Linked DNA regions of Homo sapiens: region 2 is linked to region 1. Evidence: promoter capture Hi-C in 16 types of primary human blood cells and fetal thymus (Javierre and others, 2016). All regions are on one chromosome and are shown on one strand. The core of a region is centred on a gene start or on the middle of the fragment in contact, and the rest is flanking DNA. Distances in the headings are between cores, read along the strand shown.

The links. The method cuts DNA at HindIII sites, captures the fragments that hold promoters and counts their contacts. A CHiCAGO score of 5 or more calls a contact.
Region 2: a fragment that was not itself captured here is called in contact with the fragment with the promoter of CDK17 in region 1 in 4 of 17 cell types (neutrophils, total CD8 T cells, endothelial precursors and 1 more); the score reaches 9.2 in neutrophils.

What each region holds. Positions count from the first base shown.
Region 1 is chr12:96,398,862-96,405,138 of GRCh38, reverse strand. CDK17 (cyclin dependent kinase 17) reads left to right here and starts at 4,700. Exons shown (of 17, transcript NM_002595.5): 1 at 4,700-5,153. RefSeq lists silencers at 944-1,043, 4,357-4,686, 4,777-4,956, 5,137-5,296 and an enhancer at 3,717-3,936. The HindIII fragment of the contact is 3,343 bases long and covers 3,313-6,277 here.
Region 2 is chr12:96,528,488-96,534,957 of GRCh38, reverse strand. It overlaps CFAP54 (cilia and flagella associated protein 54), which reads right to left. Exons shown (of 68, transcript NM_001306084.2): 10 at 985-1,166; 11 at 731-896. Among named protein-coding and RNA genes, the nearest start is that of CFAP54, 42 kb to the right of the region's middle. The HindIII fragment of the contact is 2,750 bases long and covers 3,349-6,098 here.

The DNA.
Region 1 (6,277 bases), core at 3,451-5,950:
AAATGAAGAAAAAACTAGTTAATCCCATCTTAATCTCATAATAGAGACGTGTATGCAGTCTTACTGGAAGCCTGGAAACTAACTCTCCCTAAGCATTTTGTCAGCAACTAGAGAAAACTTTCATTTCAAAATAAAATGTTTGAAAATTTTGTCCCCCTTAACTGCCAAGATTCAGTTTGGTTCCTGGATTCATTTCCCTTGTAAGGACACATGACATCACTCTGCTGAAAGCTTTTTATAACGCTCCCTGGACGAGACCAAATGTCTCAGATGTTATTCATCCTCTAGGGTTAAATCTGGTACACCAAATTTGAAATTTTACATGTAAATAGGGAAGAAATTTTCCCTCCCCAAATTTGTAACTTGTAAATCTATGGAGGTATTCTGATAATATCAAATAGATCTGCTCTGTAAAATCTCTACCATTAAGCTTTAAGTGACAGGGTACAACTGTATCATTATGCAATGGTATATAGCTGTTTTGCAGGTGTTGGGATGGTACAAAATATTAAAAATAAATGTTAAGGCCTGGCTAGATGTTTCATTTTTGAAGCAGGTTTTAAAAAGCCTTTGACAAAACTCCTTTCTTGCCTACAGCTTCATTTTTGCCAAATGTAAAATTATTTTGCTATTGGGGGAAAATTGTTGATTGCTGTCCTTAGCTTAATTTGCTTTATTCTTCTTGCAAAACAAGCAAACAAACACACAGACTTCCTATATGATTCAGCCTAGTAAAACAGGGAATGAACCCAGACAAAAAGTGTTTTTTCTATTTGGTCAGTAATCTAATTTCTTTGAGAATTTTTAAGGAATATGAAATAATTAGAAATAGTCCAGAAATTCAGACATATGGAAAATTGTTTTGTAAACAAAGCTATGTATTGATGTTGTATAGAGCAGTGATTCTCAAACTTTATTGTTCAGCAGAATCTTAGAAAATCTCTGTAAACAGTTTGCTGGGCCCCACACTAGAGTTTCTGATTCAGTTGGTCTGGAGCGGGAACTGAGAATTTGCATTTCTAAGAAATTCCCAGGTAACACTGCTGAGAACCACTGATGTAGAGCAATTGAAAACCAGCTTAAGTGTTTCTTGTTTGTATCTTACCTGAAAGTTTCATATTTGTTTCCCAGACAGTGTCATTTTCAGAATGTGAATCCCAGCAAAGATTTTCTGGACTTACCACATTTAACTCTCTTTGTCCAAAGTTCAATGACCTTCAAAATTTTCTCCCCTCAATATTTTTATATATGTCACATGATATAGCTATTCTATGGTGAAAACATTTTGGGATATACTTGTTTCACTGGAAAGAAGATTATTTTTCAATCTCAGAACTTCTAAGAGCCTTAAATACGTAAATGTATATTGTGAATTTCCAAAAGGGAGATAAAGTATGTGGCATTCCTCAAGTGGATTTGATCTTGGAATTCTTCCTCAATCTTTCTCCTCCACTAAGCACTATGGAATATCTATTAATGACAGTTAGGGAAATATTCTAAGTAATTTTATAATTTAACATAGTTTTACAAGGTAAAAAAAAAAGCCTATATTACAACCTACGGAAAAAACAACTAACATGCTCACAATATTACATATAATTTTTTTTTTTTTTTTTCAGACAGAGTCTTGCTCTGTCACCCAAGCTGGAGTGCAGTGGTGTGATCTCAGCTCACTACAACCTCCACTTCCTGGGTTCAAGCGATTCTCCTGCCTCAGCCTCCTGGGTAGCTAGGATTACAGGCTCCTGCCACCACGCCTGGGTAATTTTTGTATTTTTAGTAGAGATGGGGTTTTGTTATTTTGGCCAACCTGGTCTCGAACTCATGAGCTCAAGTGATCCACCTGCCTCGATCTCCCAAAGTGCTGGGATTACCGGTGTGAGCTACCGCGCCTGGCCAAATTTTAAATCGGTTTAGAAAAGTAATTAAATAGGCCATGGGGCTGGGTGCTGTGGCTCACCCAGCACTTTGGATCACTAGAGCTCATGAGTTCGAGACCAGCCTGGCCAACATGTCCAAACCCCGCCTCTACTAAAAATACAAAAATTAGCCGGGCGTGGTGATGGGCACCTGTAATCTCAGCTATTCAAGAGGCTGAGGCAGGAGAATTGCTTGAACCCAGGAGATGGAGATTGCAGTGAGTTGAGATGATGCCACTGCACTCCAGCCTGGGTGACAGAGCAAGACTCCCTCTAAAAATAAATAAATAAACAGATAAATAAATAGGCCAGGGGTGGTGGCTCCTGTTTGTAGTCTCAGCACTTTGGGAGGCCGAGGTTGGAGGATTGCTTGATGTCAGGAGTTAATACCAGCCTGGGCTGTCGGCATAGTGAGACTCCATCTCATTTAAATAAATAAATAAATAAATAAATATGAAAAGTAATGAAATAAATATTGTGCAATCTGTAATTTTTTTTTTCATTGAAAGAACAAATCCTCCAGGCACGGTGGCTCACGCCTGTAATCCCAGCATTTTGGGAGGCCGAGGAGGGTGAATCATCTGAGGTCAGGAGTTTGAGACCAGCCTGGCCAACAGGGTGAAACCCTGTCTGTACTAAAAATGCAAAAAATTAGCCGGGCGTGGTGGCGGATGCCTGTAATCCCAGCTACTTGGGAGGCTGAGGCAGGAGAATCGCTTGAACCTGGGAGGCGGATGTTGTAGTCAGCTGAGACCACGCAACTGCACTCCAGCCTGGGCAACAAGAGCAAAATTCTGTCTTAAAAAAAAAAAAGAAATAACAAACCAATCAATCAAATAATCACCTAAGTTTTCATTATGAATTCGTCTTTTTTTTTTCTTTTTGAGACGGTGTCTCACTCTGTCACCCAGGTTGGCGTGCAGTGGCAGAATCTCAGCTCACCGCAAACTCCGCCTCCCAGGCTTAATGGATCCTCCCACCTCAGCCTCCCAATTACGAATTCTTTGTTATGCTAATGAAAGATGTAGAAAGAGGAGAGGGTGCTTTGGATGAGACAGAATAATCTTTTTATTTCTCATGGAGTAATGTTAATCTAATGATATGAAGGTATAAGTATTAATGCTGAAACTCAGAATGCCATTTCATAGACTCCCTTTTTTGGTGATTTTTTGATATTTACTAAAGTACTAATTTAGATGAGGCAAGTATATGAAAATCCTTTCATATAAATAGGCCTTGTATAAATATCAGTGTTTCTCTTTAACTTAAAAAGAACTCTGAAAATGATGCTACATCTTGCTATATTATAAAGTTCCAAGTTTGACTTGGACAAATCTAAAAAGCCTCATTAACAGTGCTTTTAAACAAAGCGCACTTGTTCTAACGGAAAGCTTGTTATGTATATTTGCATTCTTGGTTGGTAAACAAGTGTTAAATACGCGTAGAGCATAATTGTTGCTAATTTACGGGTCCTGGTAATTTTAGAGGCATGGGAAAAGCCTGATTGACACGTACGATCGTTGGATATAACTGTAGATGCATTTAACTTTGCCAAACAAAATAAGAGAAAGATGTCAGCATGCAGCATTTTTAAGGGGGAAAGGATTCATCCCTAAATCCAAAAAGATAATTCCCCGAAGTTCTTAGCACATAATGTGATTTGAAACTTCAAAGCAGCTTCTACTTCCGGGTGTTAACATGGGAAAAAAAATTTATCTCACTTCACAGGACTTTTATGTGGGTTTTTTTTTCTTGTTTATGTTGTCTACATCCGGTCCCTACTCTCTTCTTTCAATCCTCTCATTATCTCCCTCTAGGGGTTTAAGTTTGTTTTAACTTTATGCTTTTATCCTTATTAGTGGAAAAAAGTGGGTCAGTATTACTTTAGTTTGTCTTCACTGCCACTCTGCTGTTCATTCCTGAACTAGCTTTTAGCCTCTGGGAAAGGAGAAAGTAAAAACAGTTGCAGAAACTGGGCCAACCTCTCGCGGCCCGCCTCCCCCAAGAAAACAAAACCTAACCCGTGCAACAGTAGTCCTTTCTGTTTTCATAGCACCTTGTATTTCTCCGCTCATAACGTTCAGATTTTTATGATAGTTATTGATCATCTTTCATCCCAGCTAGACTCTCCGTCCTTAGAGGACTCAGCATATTGCCGGGCACATGATAATATATACAAAACACTGTACTGTAGTTTAAATGAATAGATGCCGTGTGTGTGAGAGACTGCGGCACTAGTACCCACGTACCCACACACAACAAAGGAGAAAAGTTGCAGCCATCAACATCTTTCAGTGTGGGTCCTTTGACATGGACTCTCTAGAAAGTCAGTGGAGAACTGTGGCATGGACACCTTGTACAGTAATTACTTGTATAACTGAAGCACGAGTTTTGGTTTGGTAGCGGGAAGTTGAGGGGCAGGGGGATGTTGGAGGGGCTGAATTATTCACATAATTTCTCCCCCAGTCGCTGCGGACAGGCACTCATTCCGGTGGGGTCCCCTGGCCCCCTCCGCCGCTCCCCCGACGCCCGCATTTCGGAGCGGGCAGTTTCCCGGGGACACCCGCCCCGCCCTGCAGGCCCCGCCCCCGGCCGCCGGCCCCGCCCCCGCCTCCGCCGCCGCCGGCAGGGGTCGCGCTGCCCCCGGCGAGCCGCTCAGGCGGGGGTGGGGTAAGCTCCCGCGGCCGGTCGCTTTTCTCCGCCGCCGCTGGTTGGATCGTTTCAATAAAAGTGTTTTTTCTCTTGCACTCGCTCTCCTCCGGGGAACAGGCGGAGGCGTCAATCCGCAGCCGCCGAGTGTGAAAGCGACGCACACGCAAGGAGCGAACGCGGCCGCCCGCAGTCTCCTGAGCTCCCCGCGGGCCGCCGCAGAGCCGCGGAGAAGGAGCCAGCGCCCGGCCAGACAGTCTCAGCCCGCCGTCGGCGCCCGCCGCGCTCGCGCCCGGCTGCTCCGAGGGGATTAGTGGGCCGTCCGCGCGGCTCGTCGGCGCGGGAGCCATGTTGACCGAGGGACTTGGCAACGCGTGAGACACCCGCGGCCCCTCCCGAGGCTCCGGACCCGCGGCGAGAGCCGGAAGGCGGCTGTGGCGGCGGAGGCCTGCGCTCGGAAGCGCCTCACGTCTGCCGGCCGCTGAGACCCGGACTTGCATCCGGTCGCCGCGGGCGTCCGCGGAGCAGCTTCCCCCCGCGCCTCTCTTCGCCTCGCCTCGGGACCCGCGGTCCCCGCTCTTGCTGGTGAGTTGGCGGCTGGCGTCCGCGCCGCGCTTTCCCCTGGTGTCGGGTCGGCCGCGGGGCCGGGAGGCTGCGTGGGACAGAGGCGGGGGCGGGGGCTACTGGGGGCGCGGGTGGCTCAGGCCCGGTCGGGAAGTTGAGCGAGGAGGCGCGGCGCGGGGGGCTAGCGTGCGCCTGTCACCTCTCCGGTCCAGCGAGGACCTTGGGTCGCCCGGGGATTTCCGGGGCTCGGGTGGGGTGTGAGTGTCTGCGAGCTGCTTCCCAGGAGGCGCCGACAGATATAGACGCCGCCGCCTCCGGTGCTCGCTGCCGCTTTGGTCTGCGGGGGAGGCCGGTCTCCTCGCGAGGCGGAGGAGGGGAAAGAGGCAGAAAGTCCCCCGAGACACAAAGGTCCCCTCGGCGGGGGTGGAGCTGGAGGCGCAGGCGACGCTGCCCGGGAGGGGAAGGAAGGGGCGCGGGTCCGCGGGAGGTGGGCGAGGAGGCGGCGGTCGCGGCGCCTGCAGCTCCTTGGAGACGCTGGCGCTGTGCGCGGGTGGGGAGCGCGGAGGAGGAGGAGGAGCCCGCGCGTGGGAGCGGGTAGAGACAAAGATCAGGGCAGCCTCCTGCTGGCGGGTCACACCCCGGAGTGTTGGTCAAGAGCGGAGGTAGAGGGAAGGTGGGAAACCCAGCAAACCGATGGGGAGGGGAAAATGGGGGGAGGAGGGTGCCTAGTGCTGTCTCCGTCGCAGTTGCTTTTCTCAGCATTTTTGTGCCCGATGCTATGCCCGATGCTTTTGCTCCCCAACTCAGCTGGATAGCTCCAGATTCCCTCCCTCCTGTCACCCCCACACTGCCACATTGACTCTCCTGTGGTTTTTCCCTCGTTCTCCCCCTACTTTTCACCCACTCCTTTTCGGGTAAGCAGTATTTTGCTTTCAGCTTGGGGAACATTTGTTAATGACAGGATGTCTGAGCTTGTTCTGACCCTGAACTGCCTTGAACTTCTCTCTCTTCCTCCCACCCTTTCCTTTTCTGGGATCTATAATGTCACATGGCCGTTAACAATTAGCTTTTCTTTTGCAAAAGTGGCAAAAAGCGTTTAGCTGAAATCTGTGGCTCTCGCCTCCTTTACATGAATATGTCCACCA
Region 2 (6,470 bases), core at 3,474-5,973, 130 kb before region 1:
CATAAATCCAACATTCCAACATTTGTATGCTATGTCCAAAAAGAAACTGAAGAGGCTTATAATATTAAAGTGCACATAAAATATGGTAGTTGAAAGAAAAATAATAAAAATATTGATTCAGAAATCACTAGAAGACATATATCATTACTTGGTACAAATTACTTACTGCAACTGATAAGCCATGCAATATCTTAAGAACATGGCAAAACATTAAAAACCTGGAATTAAATAGTTCTCTTTGGTGTAAAAAGCAGACACGGCAGGTTTTCAATTATACACACAATAACTTTTAGGATTTGAAAAGTCCTAGAATGGCAAACACTGCAAGCTGGAAAGAGACAGGAGATTACCAAACCTTCCCTTCCTAACATGAACTGATGACTTTGTCCTCTGATTCACTGCCTTGCGGGCCTCCCTCTTATCCAACTAAGCCGGAAAGTAAATAGAACCTCATTCCCCTACTCAAAACTGTCACTCAGAATATAATCTAGCATCCTTACAAAGCCCAGGAACTACATCATCTAGCGCCTAGCTACTTCTCTAACCTTGTCACCTACCACACTTGGTCACACATACCCCCATGCCATTCCTGCAATCACCAAACACACTCTTGTCTCAGGGCCTTTGTACCTCTTGCTCCCTCCGCCTTCAACATCCTTTCTCTCACCATATCTATAAAAGAGCATATTTCGTCAAACTAAATTTTTTGAACAAACAAATAAATACTTACCATGAACAGCAATTTTTTTTAAATAAATTTGAGTTGACTGTCCTTCTTTATAGTTTTCCAAAGGAAAGATCAAACCTTTGTTTCTCTTCACGTTGATTAGTGGTTCCATTGCAATCAGAAGAGTTAAATCCTTCTCTGCTTTCTTTGACTCTGGATCATCCTGCCTCTTGGGGAAGTATATCCCACACGTTAATTAGTAATTGGATGTCATTTTAACAAAAAAAAAACCAGGAGGATAATTTTGCATATATTACCTGGAGAAAATAAATAAGATGTACAGCAGAAGATTCAAATAAACTCCACTCCTCATAGGTAAAAGCTAATTTTATAAATTTCACAGCAGCATCCACAGAAATAACATCTTTTCTTCCTATCATAAGTTCCAGAAGAGATGTTTTTGGAAAATCAAGCATTCCATCTGCACCAATATTTGACACTAGGAAAGGAAGAAGAGAGTTTTGAATATCACTCATGCAAATAAATATTTATTAAATATTCACTATAGACACTTTCAGGCACCAGGAAAACACAATCCCTGCTTTCATAAGATTTACGTTCTAGTGGGGGAAACAAGAAATCTTAGTGGGCAAATACAGGGTGGTGCTTTAGGGACAAATAGGAAGGGCATCCAACACAGATGTGGGGAAGGAGGGCAGTTAGGGAAGGATACTCAGGGGAAAGAGAATGGAATCTCAAACACAGAATGAGCAAGAGTTCCTAGATACAGGTTGGAAACTTGGGAAAGAGATCTAAAATGGGGATAGAGCTTTTAGAGTCATCATTATACATCCACAGTAAATAGTAGATTCAGCCATGGATCATGTTGCCTTGCACAGAATAATAAGAAACACCAACATTTAAGAGAAGAGCAGAGGGAATAAAGGCTGCAAAGGTGAGTGTTTAGAAAGAAAGGAGTACTCAACAGTAACACATAGATACAGAAAGTAAAGAAGAAAAGGACTAGCCAGGCTTATTGGCGTGCACCTATAGTCTCTGTTACTCAGAAGGCTGAAGCAGGATGATAACTTGAGCTCAGAAGTTTGAGTCCAGCCTGAGAAATATAGCAAGAACCTGACTCTCAAAAAAAAAAGAAAGAAAGAAAAGAAAAGTAACTGAAAGTAACTGAAAGTGACCCCTGGATTGAGCAATAAGGTTGTCCATGACATTCTTAGTAGAGTGCTAGAGTCTGCCCACTGTATAAGTAGAAAGAAAATACTTAGGAACAATGAAAACAGACAATACCGTCAATAAATCTGGCTGTACCAAGAAGAAGACCTATAGGGAGGAAGCTGAAAGAAAACACGGAGGCCCAGTCACAGTGGCTTATGTTTGTAATCCCAGCACTTTGGGAGGCCAAGGCAGGTGGATCCCTTGAGCCCAGGAGTTCGAGACCAGCCTGGGCAACATGGAGTAACCCCACCTCTACAAAAAATACAAAAATTAGCCAGGTATGGTGGCACATGCCTGTATTCACAGCTACTCAGGAGGCTGAGGTAGGAGGATCACTAGAGCCCAGGAGGTCCAGGTTACAGTGAAGAATGATCGCACCATTGCACTCCAGCCTGGGTGACAGAGTGAGATCCTGTCTCAAAAAAAAAGGGCACGGTATAATGGGACCACTTGGACACTTGGAGGGATTAGGCTTAAAGACACAAAGAGAAACATCCCCTCTCCTCCATTTAAATGAGAGATAGTGGGAAAGGATCAATATGCATGAGGGTAAATTTGGGGGTTTGGGTGAAGAAAGTCAAGGAAATTCTTATCTAAAACTTGTATTTTTCTTAGGAAGAGAAGAGCCCAAACTATGGCACCAGAAGTTCCCTGCATTCAGATGGGCATTCGCATACACATGTGCACCCACATGTGCCCACACCCACACACTAAACTCACCTAAAGGCATAGGAGCTAACCCTAGGCTTTTCTCCCTCCTCTCAGGTGGACACTAAGGCCAAGTCAGCTAATTGTTCCAAGAAGGAAAGCTCATGGGAAAAGAAAATTAAAAGCAAAAACATCTTGAAAGAAAAACCACAAATGAAGCATCCTTTACCACAAGAAGCAAGAAAATGGAAAAGCACAAACAAGAATTTAAGTGAAAGTGTTCTCTCAGAAAAATAAAAGAGGATATTAGAAACATAAGGCAAGAACAACTGCTGTGAAAAAAGAACCAAGTGGATTCAATGTATAAAGTACATCATCATTGATGGCCGGGTGCGATGGCTTATGCCTGTAATCCCAGCACCTTGGGAGGCCAAGGCAGGCAGATCACCTGGGGTCAGGAGTTTGAGACCAGCCTGGCCAACATGGTGGAACCCCATCTCTACTAAAAATACAAAAAATTGGCCCGGCGTGGTGGTGCACACCTGTAGTCCCAACTACTCGGGAGGCTGAGGCAGGAGAATCGTTTGAACCCAGGAGGCAGAGGCTGCAGTGAGCTGAGATCGTGCCACTGCACTCCAGCCCAGGCAACAGAGCAAGACTCTGTCTCAAACAAACAAACAACAAAAATAACAAAAAAGTATATCATTGTTGAAACAAATAATTAAATAGGTAAACAGAAGAGTAGAACAGAGAGAATCAAAGATGAAATTCGTGACCTGAAAAATCAGATAGAGGAAGCTTCCCAGAATGCAACAGAATAAAGACATGAAAAGAATAAAATAAATAAGACATGGAGGATGAACATCTATCCTGTTAACATCTGTCTAATGGCATCTTCAATGCCTTGAAGGATTTTTTTTTTAAATAATGAATATAAGGAAAGAAATTTAAAAGTAACATGAAAAAATGAAAGAAAGATATGACCTCAAAGTATCTGCTGCATTACTAAACCCACCCCTAGATCCAGTAGAATAAAATGTAAGAATGTCATAAGAAAGAGAAAATTGTAAAAGATACATCTATAAAACAACAAGATTTAAACTGACATTACACTTCTCAACAGAAACACTATATATACAAGATTATAAAAAAGAGCATCAAAATCTTAAAGAAACTTGTAAGTAAACTATTATATCCAGCCAAACTACTTCAAAATTCTTAGAGTTTGTATTTCAGCAAAAAGAAATGAATTTAGAAAGAAGCAATGAAAAATGGGAAGTAATGATGAGGAGAAAAAAATCTTAATAAAGGTATTTTCTGTCTTAAAAAGCAATGACCAGGACTTGTATTCAGAACATAAAAAGAGCTCTCAAAACTCAAGAGAAATAATTAACAATCCAATTAGAAAGTGAACAAAAGACACTAGAGAAAAAGAGAGTATACAGATGGGAAATAAACACATGAAAAACTGTTTAACATCTTTAGCCATTAGGGAAATGCAAATTAAAGTCACAGTGGGATATTACTACACACCTATCAGAATGGCTAAAATAAAAAAGTAATGATACACCAAATTCTGTCAAGGATGTCCAGAAACTGGATCATTTACACATTGCTGGTGGAAATATAGTAGAGTCACCCTGGAGAATAGTATGACAGGTTCTCACAAAACTAAATATGAACTTATCATATATCCAATCCAGCAATTGCACTGTTGAGCATTTTATTCCAGAGAAATGAAAACTTACCTTCACACAAAAACTTGTACTCAACTGTTCATAGCAGCTTTATTTCTAGTAGCCAAAAACTGGAAATAATTCAAATGTCCTTCAAAGGGTAAGTGGTTAAACAAACTGTGGTGTATCCATACCATAAAATAATACTCAGCAGTAACAAGTGAAAAAAAATTTTTTTTGAGACAGAGTCTTGTTCTGTCCCCAGGCTGGAGTGCAGTGGTGGTGGTGTGATCTCCATTCACTGCAACCTCTGACTCCTGGATTCAAATGATTCTTTTGCCTCAGCCTCCCAAGTAGCTGGGACTACAGGCACATGCCATGACGCCTGGCTAATTCTTGTATTTTTAGTAGAGACAGAGTTTCGCCATGTTAGCCAGGCTGGTCTTGAACTCCTGGGCTCAAGGGATCAGCTCGTCTTGGCCTCCCAAAGGGCTGGGGTTACAGGCATGAGCCATGGTACCCCGCCAAGTGAACTATTAATACACACAACCTGGATACATCTCAAGAGAATTATGCTGAGTGAAAAAACAGACAACACACATACGGCCACCTAATTTATGACTAAGGGATACTGCAGCCAACTAAAGGAAGTTATCTTCAATAAATGGTGCTGTGTCAACTGAATATACATATAGAAGTATATAAATCTTGATTTCTACTTCGTATAAACAAAAAAGATCTAATTTCTAATTATAGACCTCATAAACTTAAGGAAGAAACAATAAAACTTATGGAAGAAAACATACGAGAATATATTTACGACATTGGGGTAGCTGAAACTTCTTAACCACAACACACAAAGGATCAACTATATAGGATATATTGATAAATTGGACTATATTAAAATTAAGAATTTCTGTTCCCCAATGGATATCATTAAGAGAATGAAAAGGCAAGCCATCAAGTAAGAAATGATATTTGCAATACATGTATTCAATAAAGGAATTATATCCAGAATAGATAAAGAATTCCTATGAATCGACAGAAAAAAGGACAAAAGGTTAAAATAGGCACCTCACAAAATAGGATATCCAATAGTGAAAAAAGTATATGAAAAAGTGTTTAACTTTATTAGTCATCAGAGAAATTTAAGTTTATACTGCAACACCACTGAATTCACACCAAAATGGACAAAATGAGAAAGACAGATAATACTAAGTGTCAGAGAAAATTTGGAGTAATGGAACCCTGATAAAATGTTGATGGGTGTGCAAACTAAAAAAAACCACTTTGTAAAACAGTATCCAATGAAGCAACATGGGAATATCCCATGCTCTTGCAATTCCACACCAACAGAAATGCATAGCAGATGTTTAACATATTTCTCTGAGTAATTCATAAAATAAAAAGACAAAAACTATCAGTAGGGATAGAGAAGATCTAACCACATGATTTACTAGCTTAACTTAATCAACATATATATAAAGCAATGCATCCAACAACAACAAAAAATACATAGTCTTTCAAGTACACACAGACTATTTACCAAAGCTGGTCATGTGCTAGGCCATAAAGCCTATCTTAACAAATGTTCACAGTTCCAAATAATACATAATGTGCTCTCTGACCATAGTATAATTAACATAGAAATCAGTAACCAAAAGATAATTAGAAAATCTCCCATATTTTGGTTCAGAACCCATATATCAAAGAATAAATCACACTGCGTATTAGAAAATATTCTTACTCCAATAGTAATAAAGATATGATATATCAAAACTTCAGATACATAGCTAAAGCTGAATTTAGAACAAATGTCTTAATATGCATTTAATGTAAATAATAACAAATCCTAAAAATCAATGATCTAAGCTTCCAAGTCAATAAGTTTTTTAAATCAGTAAAGCAAACCCAAGAAAGTATAATAAAGGAAGTAATGAAGAGCAAAAATCAATAATATGGAAAATGGACATACAATAGGGAAGATCAACAAGGTCAAATATTGTTTCTTTGCAAAGACTAATGAAACTGGTGGACCCCTGGTGAAATTGATGAAATAAGAGAGAAAGCAAACTGACCAATACTGAAAAGAAAATCTGAAAAATTTTATATCTATGGAGGAAATTGAATTCATCATTTAAAATATTGCCATACAAAAAATTCCAGGTACAGATGGCTGCACCAGAAAATTCAACTAAACATGTAGGAAGAAATAACACCAATATGACACAAACATTTACAGATAA